3 separate regions of the Homo sapiens genome follow, and all the other regions are linked to region 3. Evidence: promoter capture Hi-C in human tissues and cell types (Jung and others, 2019). All regions are on one chromosome and are shown on one strand. The core of a region is centred on a gene start or on the middle of the fragment in contact, and the rest is flanking DNA. Distances in the headings are between cores, read along the strand shown. Region 1 overlaps SLC6A11 (solute carrier family 6 member 11). Region 2 holds the start of LINC00606 (long intergenic non-protein coding RNA 606). Region 3 holds the start of SLC6A11 (solute carrier family 6 member 11).

Region 1 (2,700 bases), core at 61-2,560, 43 kb after region 3:
GGGCTTTTACAAGCCACTCACAGACCCTGCACCCCTTGTTTGTGACAAGGATTTTGTAACATGGCTTTTGTCACCCTGAAACGCAACTCATAAATAATCTGCCTGCACAGATAAGTTCAAGAAAATTGATATGATGCCCTAGCTATATTATAAAGGAAAAGCAAAAAGAGAGCAAATTATAAATAAAACAGCATGTATTTCAATATGTAAATGCTCGAGCACACAAGAAAACATAATGAAGTAGTCAGGTGCTGGCACCAGCTTGTAAGAAATACATATGGATGTGAGACAGGAGAGCCGATGCACCACTGAATATTGTCTATACTTTTTCTCCATGTTTTACATTTTTAAATAAGAACTAGCCACATATGTTATTATAGAATCACCACGAATGCAATAGCTGGAATAGTGACTAATAAAAGGGTGGTTGTGTCAATCACTCACATTCCACGGACAGTACAGCCATTAGTGACATGATTTTCTGAAATGATGAACAATGCTTGGTAAAGTACTGAATTAAAGAGACAGCCTTTCCTCAATTTACATGGTAATTGCATTTCTGGAAAATTCAGTCTATATTAAAATGAGGTTAAAAAAATCTTCGAGGATATATGTAAAACAGAGTTAGCTTCTCACTCGAATAATTATAAACAGCTCCTCCCCACCCCACAGGAAGTGGAACATGCAGAAATCTTGAGAAGCAGGAGAGTTTTTTTGCTGTGTGAGGATGGTCCCCCACACTGTAGGATTCCCAGCATCTCTAGTTATTTGCCATCAAATGCATCACCTCCATCTTTATGATGACTCGAAATGCCTCTACATGTCTCCAGGTTGCCCCTTAGAGGATGTACTGCTCTTGTTGCAATCACTAACTTATGTTATGTCATTTAATCTTCACAATAATTCTTTGAAGTAGGTATTTTTGTTTCCACTTTATAGGTGGGCACACTGAGGCTTAGCGAGGTACAGTAACCTGCTCAAGGTCACAGAGCTGGGACTGGAAGCCCCTCTGTTTTTCTGTCTCACTATGGCATTTAATACTGAGTTATTGTTTTACGGAGCTATGTGCCTTCAAATTAATTCAACATGCACTTATTAAACACCTACTGGGTTTTAGGTATTCTGGTAAGTCAAGGAGACATAAAGGCAAATATCTAAGACTTGGTCCTGTGCAGCATATGGGATTGTCCAGAGAGAGAGAGAGAACATGGCTCTGGAAAGGAATGGAACAAGTTCTTTATGCCCAGAATGGGCAGCCCTCGAGGGTATATGAAGAGAAACAGGCTGGATTGGTAGGTAGAGATCAGCTTATGAAGGGATTGTAGACAAGCCTAGTAAGAAATTGAGAGCAATGGAGAGGCACCAAAAGGCTTAAAGCCAGGGGATTCTATGACCAAGCTTTATAAAAAGGCCACCATAAAATGTGGCATGTGGAATGAATAGGAGGGGGCTGAGACCAGAACACATGCCATTAAGTAGTTTGGGTAGGAGATAGTGACAACTTTGAGGTGGAGAGAGAGGAAGAATTTGTGAAATAAGCAAGAGTATGAGTCAGCCCTCTGTGACCCAATGTAGAGGGTAAAGGAGACACAGCAGCCCAAGATGAAGCCCAGCTTTCTGGCTTGAGTGCCCAGTGCTCAGTGGTGCTGGTAGGCGAAATGGAGAAATATGGTAGGAGGCAGTGTTTTGGCTGGAGTTGAGGGAGACCATTCTTTGAGGACCCATTAATGTCTGTGACTCTGCAAGTAGACCCATTAATGTCTGTGACTCTGCAATGTCTGTGACTCTGCAAGTAGAGATATTTGGGTAGCAGACAGGTATGTCTGAGCTCAGGTGAGAGATGTGTGCAGTGGAATCGTTAGCATGTATGTTAGGATTTCTTTTCCTGGAGCCTGTGGATGTTTCAAGGTATCCATGAGCTCCTTGGAATTGTATAAAAATTCTGAGATTGTGTGATATGTACTTTTTTCTAGGGTGAGGGTCTGTAGATATCGTCTTATTTTTAAGGGACCTGTGTCTTCCCAAAATGAGAAACCTCTAATATGCCATATTTTGTCTAATCTAAGTTACATCATTATTTTATGTACCAGAAGGTACATAATGCTTTCAATTAAGAACATTTACCAGAAGTATAAACACTTCCAATTAATCTACTATCCACTGCTTTAACATTATTCCTGTGTGACACGTGGAATAGTCACACCAGACTCTACTGTTGCTTTGAAGTTTCTTCCAAAGGAATTGGCAGATTCTTCTGACCTCAGGTGTGTTTTCTGGGGTATTTTTTGGCAACCAGTTTGTGGTAACAGAATGTAACATAGCTTCATTTACTTGGGGTTCTTGGATCCATAAAGTAATTGGCTGTTTCTTTGCAAGAAAATATGGAAGTGTGATCATCTCACCAATGATTTCTATTTTCTTTACAGTATCAAAATTTATCCCTATTTCTGTGCCTTTCTACAGAGACATAGTGTAATCTTTTTAAAAGACATTCTAAATCTCACACAGCAATTGACTAAATTAATTTAAAATATTTTATCTAACAAAACCCTTAGCTCAGCTATAGTGATGAAACAGGAACAGCTATGCCCTTGGTCCCTTCCATTCCGGCAGTGGAAACTACATTGCAGCTGCCATGTGGGAGCCATCCTGATTTCAGAGATAATAAGGTGAACCATTTTTAAAACATGTTTCTTAGAA
Region 2 (2,767 bases), core at 205-2,704, 52 kb before region 3:
CAAAACAGAGGTTGTTGTGAAGGCTAAATGGCACTACGTCATAGCAGTGTCTCATGGCACCCCCCTCCCACCAGCCTTTGGGTCCCAAGGTCGTTCTTGCAGGCCCAGCCCATTGGCTCCATCTGGGAGACCCAGGGCCAGAGAAGCAGAGTGGGCCCGTGAAAGACAGGAAGGGTGGTCCGGGCCATCAGACATTGACAGCCTCTCTTGTGCCTGCTCCCAGGCTCTGACCCATTCATCATATCCCTGATTCTAAGTTGCCTGGGATTTAGACCTGTTTCTGCTCCAGGATGTCCAGTCCCTCTAGAAGCAGCTTGGAGTGGTCTGGGAGCGGGGGACACTCGTGGCTGCTCCTTTGTAGCAGTTCTAGAACTTGCAAGCATGGGACAAAGATGATCATGATCATTTCGCTCATCCCTCGGGGCTCTAGCCCCTTCCCGGAGAGTGCTGTCAGGCTCAGGGCCCTGCATTCCAGTCCCGACGGGCCACTTCCTGGCTCAGAGACCTCCAGCACCACTCTGGGCCTCAGTTTCCTTATCTGTCAGCTCCCTCCCAGCTGGGTGGTCATAGGTCTAAATAAGATCACGTGAATATATGAAAGTTCTCTGTAAACTGCAAAGTATTAGCTGTACGTTAACCTCTGTCCTCTCTGAAATTCACAACTCACAGAATTACTGGGGGTCTTTTCTAACAGGACAGTGACAGGGGAGCAGATGGCCCCGGTTCTCTGAGTCACACTGCACGGTCGTCCCACCCCCACAACTGCCTCATTTTCAGCTGCGTCCTCTTCCCTCCACTCCAGTTCAGAGAGCCTTTCAGTTACCCTAATCACACTACACATTACTTGCAGGCCTCGGAGCCTGTGCTCAAGCCATTCCTTCTGCCGGGAATGACCTTTGCCTCCCTGCTTGGCAAACTTCTATGCATCCTTCAAGACTCAATGCCGATGACAGTTCCTGCCTGATACCTTCCCAAGGCAAAGGGTGTGCCTCCCTCAATGGGCTCCCCAGCCTCTATTTTCGAACCAGAGGAGTGAGAACAAACCGAGTTGGCATGACGGACGCACCCCTGCCCCGCACACAGTAGGTGCTTAGCTGATGTGTGGATTTGAACCTGTTGCCTTCCCCTCACTCACCCAGGACTGGTCTTGACATTCAGAGCTCAACTCACATCCGGGGCTGTGTCCAAGCCCTCTATTCTGTTTGGCTCAGATGGCCCCACGCTCCCTGGGGCAGAGCCGTCCCGAGGCAGCCTCTGCCTTCATGATGCTGTGTCTCTATGTGTTGGGGTGTGTGGCAGTGGAGGGGCTGTGGTCACAGAGGAGCCAACCAGGAGAGCTGAAGGCCGCCCGTAGCCATGGAGACAGGGCCCCCGGGCCAGCCAGGCCCGGGCTGGTCAGTGAATGAATAAACGTGGCCCATTTTTCTGCTTTTGTCCGGAGCCTCCCTGGGGCTTCCTGCTGTCAGCCCCAGCTGTGGGGAAGGCGGAATTTGCCTGATATCGCGGAGCCGCCGCCTGGCAGCGCCGAGCCTGGCCTGGGCCGCTTCACGCCAAGATTCATGCCCGGCTAACAAGCCCCACTTTGTTCCTGTGGGAAAGTCCAGCCTCTCAGGAAAGAGCCCTCTCTCCGGCCGGCCCCTGGTCTGGGGACTCAGCGAGGCAAACAAAGCCTCCATCCGCTGGCAAGGATTCTCAGGCCCCGAAGTCCACCTCCGTTCCCCGGCCAGGGGAGGAGCTGCTCTGGGAGGCGGAACTCAAGCGCATCCCTTTGTCCCACTCATCCCGGAGGCCTGAGATGCCACCTGTCTGGCAGGTCTCCCCCACTGCCCCTGCCTCGCCTCTGGCTACAAAGTGTGGGCTCTGTCAGAGCAGCTGGCCTGGGCTGGGGCACCCAAGGCCTTGGGGAGCTCGGCCTGGCCCCTGCTCCCTGGAGTTGAGGCCCAATGTACCTGCAGATACGCCCCAGGGACTGGGTGGAGTCCTGATGGCACTGCTGTCCAGACGGTGACCTTGGCCTCATCACAGCACCTCAGCAGGCTCAGGACAAGGACACTAAGCCCGGCTGCCCCCTCGAGTGTTGGAGTTATCTTCTCTAACCACAATGACAAGGAGTGGCCTTATTTAGCACTGGGCCTGTGCTGGGCTCTCCACCGAGGGCATTGCATGGGTGAACCATTGGAGAGGTTCTCCCATTTGTGAGCTCGGCTCAGACGTCTATAGGGGAGGACAGAAAGGTCACAGGAAGGACGGATGCTGCTCTGGGGTTGGAGCAGAAGGCACTCCGCCCCACCTAGCAAATCCCCAGCAACGCAGCTTTGGCAGCTGTTATCCTGTAGAAACGTGGGTCCAGCCCTGTCTGATCTTCTGATTGTCTTTCAAGGGAGTTGAACATTTCTATTTTGATGTGAAATTTCCCAATTTGTAAAAATGTAAAACGAAGCAATATATCGTGGCTGAAAGCCCTCAGAGTCCAAGTTTTGTTATCTGTAAGGGAGGTGTCAGAAACAGGTGGCCTAGGGACTAGATGCGGCCAGCAAATAGGTTTTATCTGGTCCCCAGATAATTTTACAATAATTTATTATGGAGTCTATGTCATGCATTCCAAAGAGGAATATAAAATGTACATGAAAGGCATAAAGAATCATGAAATACATATCCCTGAACCCACCTCCCAGCTGAGAAAATAGACCAACCCCAAGACTGCCCCTGCCAGCCCCTCCCCCCGCACCCCAGAGAGGTAACCACTGTGCTGAATTTTGTGTCTACT
Region 3 (2,700 bases), core at 86-2,585:
GGTGGAAGGAAGGGCTTTCTGGGGAGATGGAGGTTGGGAGCGACTTGAGCAGTTGTGAGCCAGAATGAAAGGAGAAGCGGAAGGCAGGAGTTTGAAGGCTTCAAAGCAAGGAGCCTGTCCCTAAGAGAGCTCCAGAGGGAGCTCCGAGGGACAGATGGAGAGTAGGGTTGGTGGGGGCTCAATGTGGCTGGACTTTTCCAGGCCTGTGCAATGGAAGAGGTGGAAGTGTTCATCTCTGTGGCCCCCAGCAGCTTAATAGTCTTTCCTTCTTCCCCTTTTCCTCTTCCTACCTTCCTCCCTTCCTCTCTAGCCACAAACATTTATTGAGCACATACTATGCACCAAGTCTTGTGCTAGGTTATGTTGCTATTATAATGAACAGGACAGTGTATATCATCCTTACAACTAAGTGAGGAGACAAATATTATACAAGAAGATGGACAAATGTGTGTAGGTCTACATATTGTATAATACTAACAATGGGTAATGTTCATTGGGCACTTTCAAGGTATCAAGACCTTTATAAGCATTTCTTAATAACCTTTTACCTAAAAATCCATCCCCTACATTAAAACTTACAAGATACTACTGATATTACCTTTTGCAGATCAGGAAACTGAGGCACAGAGGGATCAGATGACTGGCCAAAATCACACAACTTAGATTCACCTGTTTCCAGACGCAAGCACTTAACTGCCACACGGTCCTGACTATGTTGAGAGCTGCGGACACCAGTATGAACAAGACCTGCAGAGTGTCTAGGGCTGGGAAGAAGCCACGAATTCATTTACTGCCTTTTCCTCAAGGTGTGGTCCCTGGACCAGACATATCAGCGTCCCTGGGGAGGTAGTCAGACACGCAGGCTCTTCAGCCTACTGCGACCTACTAGACCGTGATGTGTAGTTTAAACAAGACCCGCAGGTGTCTGGTGTGTAGTTCAAGTTGGAGAAGTCTGGTCTAGAGCCCATTCCTCTTATTAGAAACAGGAAACCGAGGCCCAAGCATTTGAAGGTTATGGACGGTGGTAGAACTTTGGGGTTTGGTGAGTGGAGCCGGCCTAGGCCGGAATGGGCGCTTCCACTCTTGGCCCAGCAGGCCAGTGGGCAGGGCCGCGGGAAGGACGGGCGCTGCAGGGGCTCCGCGCGCTCAAGGTGCTCGCGGGCTCCCGGGCCCAGCCGGGCTGAGGTGGCGTGGGCGCCCTGCGGGCCGGGCCTCCGCGGCGCGTCCCAGTCCCAGTCTCCGCGCTGGTCTGGCCCGGTCCCTCAGCTCCACCCCCTGCCTCCCCCTCCCGCCCGCTCGCGCCTCCTGAAAAGCCAGCTCGCCCGGGGCGGCGGCGCAGAGCCGGGCCGGCGCACGAGGCAGCCAGCGCGGCCATGACGGCGGAGAAGGCGCTGCCCCTGGGCAATGGGAAGGCTGCTGAGGAGGCGCGGGAGTCCGAGGCGCCGGGTGGCGGCTGCAGCAGCGGGGGCGCGGCGCCCGCGCGCCACCCGCGCGTCAAGCGCGACAAGGCGGTCCACGAGCGCGGCCACTGGAACAACAAGGTGGAGTTCGTGCTGAGCGTGGCCGGGGAGATCATTGGGCTGGGCAACGTGTGGCGCTTCCCCTACCTGTGCTACAAGAACGGAGGAGGTGAGGTGATAGTGAGGAGAAGGGGAGGGGGCGCCAACCGCCCGGTGGGGGCGGGGAGCCAGGGGCGAGCGCGAGACCCCCTCCCGCGCCTGCGTGGAGCGGAACCCGAGCGGAGAACCTCGACTCCAGGCACCTCGCGTGTGAGCTCGCCCCGGAGCGCGGCCCACCTGTGCCAGTGCGCACGCGCACGTGCCAATTCGCACCTGAGGGTTCCACCTGCCAGCGCGGGGACTTGCCCGCGTTCTGTCCCCAGCATGAGATGCAGACCGAGGCCAGGGAGCCCTTGCTTTGGGTAGGCGCCCTGGTGTTTCGGGCACTTGGCCCCTTGGAGCCTCAGCTTTCCTAACTGGGAAAACGGCCTGTGGGGAAGGGACTCCTGATGATCAAAGTGGTCTCAGTTTTTGCGCGCTTACTGAAGTGCCGAGCACCTTTGACCATATCATCTCATCTCATCCTCTCAGTCACTTTCGTAGGCAGGGGTCTACCCATTTTGCAGGTGAGGACACTGAGGGTCAGAGAAGTCTCACTCGACCAAAAATAAAGATGAGATTCTGATGTCAAAGGCCCTATTTTAAACTGGGACTGGACTCACAACAGGGAGAACTTTTAGGCGAGGCATTGCTCTATGGTTTCCTGCCTAGTCTTTCGTCTGCTCTTAAGCCCATTTCTAGGGCCAATATTTGGGGCCCCTCTGGTGGAAGAATTGACAACGAACAGTTTATTTTACGGGTCTGAGAGTCACCCACGACAAACAGCAATACTGGTTTAATGTTGATGCTCTGCATAGAGATGTAGAAGGGGAGAGGGAAAGGACAGTGATGAGAGAGTCCTTTCTGGTGACAGCCTCTCAAAGTCAGTTTGGCAAAAGATGCAGCAGCGAATCCGTAACTCTCCCAGCTCAGGGAAGGGGCTCCAGCCTTCAGGACCCCCTCCTGTCATATCGGCAGGACAGCTGGGCGGGTCCATGGCAAGGGATCTTATAAAACCTCCTTCGGTGGCACAATTTCTCGAAGGAAGAGCCTGTATCTGTATATTCTCTCTTCTCTTTGCTGTGCCCCTGCCCCTCCAGCA

What was found. The method cuts DNA at HindIII sites, captures the fragments that hold promoters and counts their contacts. A contact is called where the count stands out against the background at its distance.
Region 1: a fragment that was not itself captured here is called in contact with the fragment with the promoter of SLC6A11 in region 3 in 1 of the 25 tissues and cell types used here (IMR-90 fibroblasts).
Region 2: a contact is called between a fragment that was not itself captured here and the fragment with the promoter of SLC6A11 in region 3, in 1 of the 25 tissues and cell types used here (aorta).

What each region holds. Positions count from the first base shown.
Region 1 is chr3:10,857,700-10,860,399 of GRCh38, forward strand. All of the region lies in intron 5 of SLC6A11 (solute carrier family 6 member 11), which reads left to right. Among named protein-coding and RNA genes, the nearest start is that of SLC6A11, 43 kb to the left of the region's middle. The HindIII fragment of the contact is 3,362 bases long and covers 1-2,700 here.
Region 2 is chr3:10,762,926-10,765,692 of GRCh38, forward strand. It overlaps LINC00606 (long intergenic non-protein coding RNA 606), which reads right to left and starts at 1,284. Exons shown (of 3, transcript NR_152730.1): 1 at 1,136-1,284. The HindIII fragment of the contact is 6,271 bases long and covers 1-2,767 here.
Region 3 is chr3:10,814,893-10,817,592 of GRCh38, forward strand. It overlaps SLC6A11 (solute carrier family 6 member 11), which reads left to right and starts at 1,336. Exons shown (of 14, transcript NM_014229.3): 1 at 1,336-1,629. The coding sequence starts at 1,374. The HindIII fragment of the contact is 14,406 bases long and covers 1-2,700 here.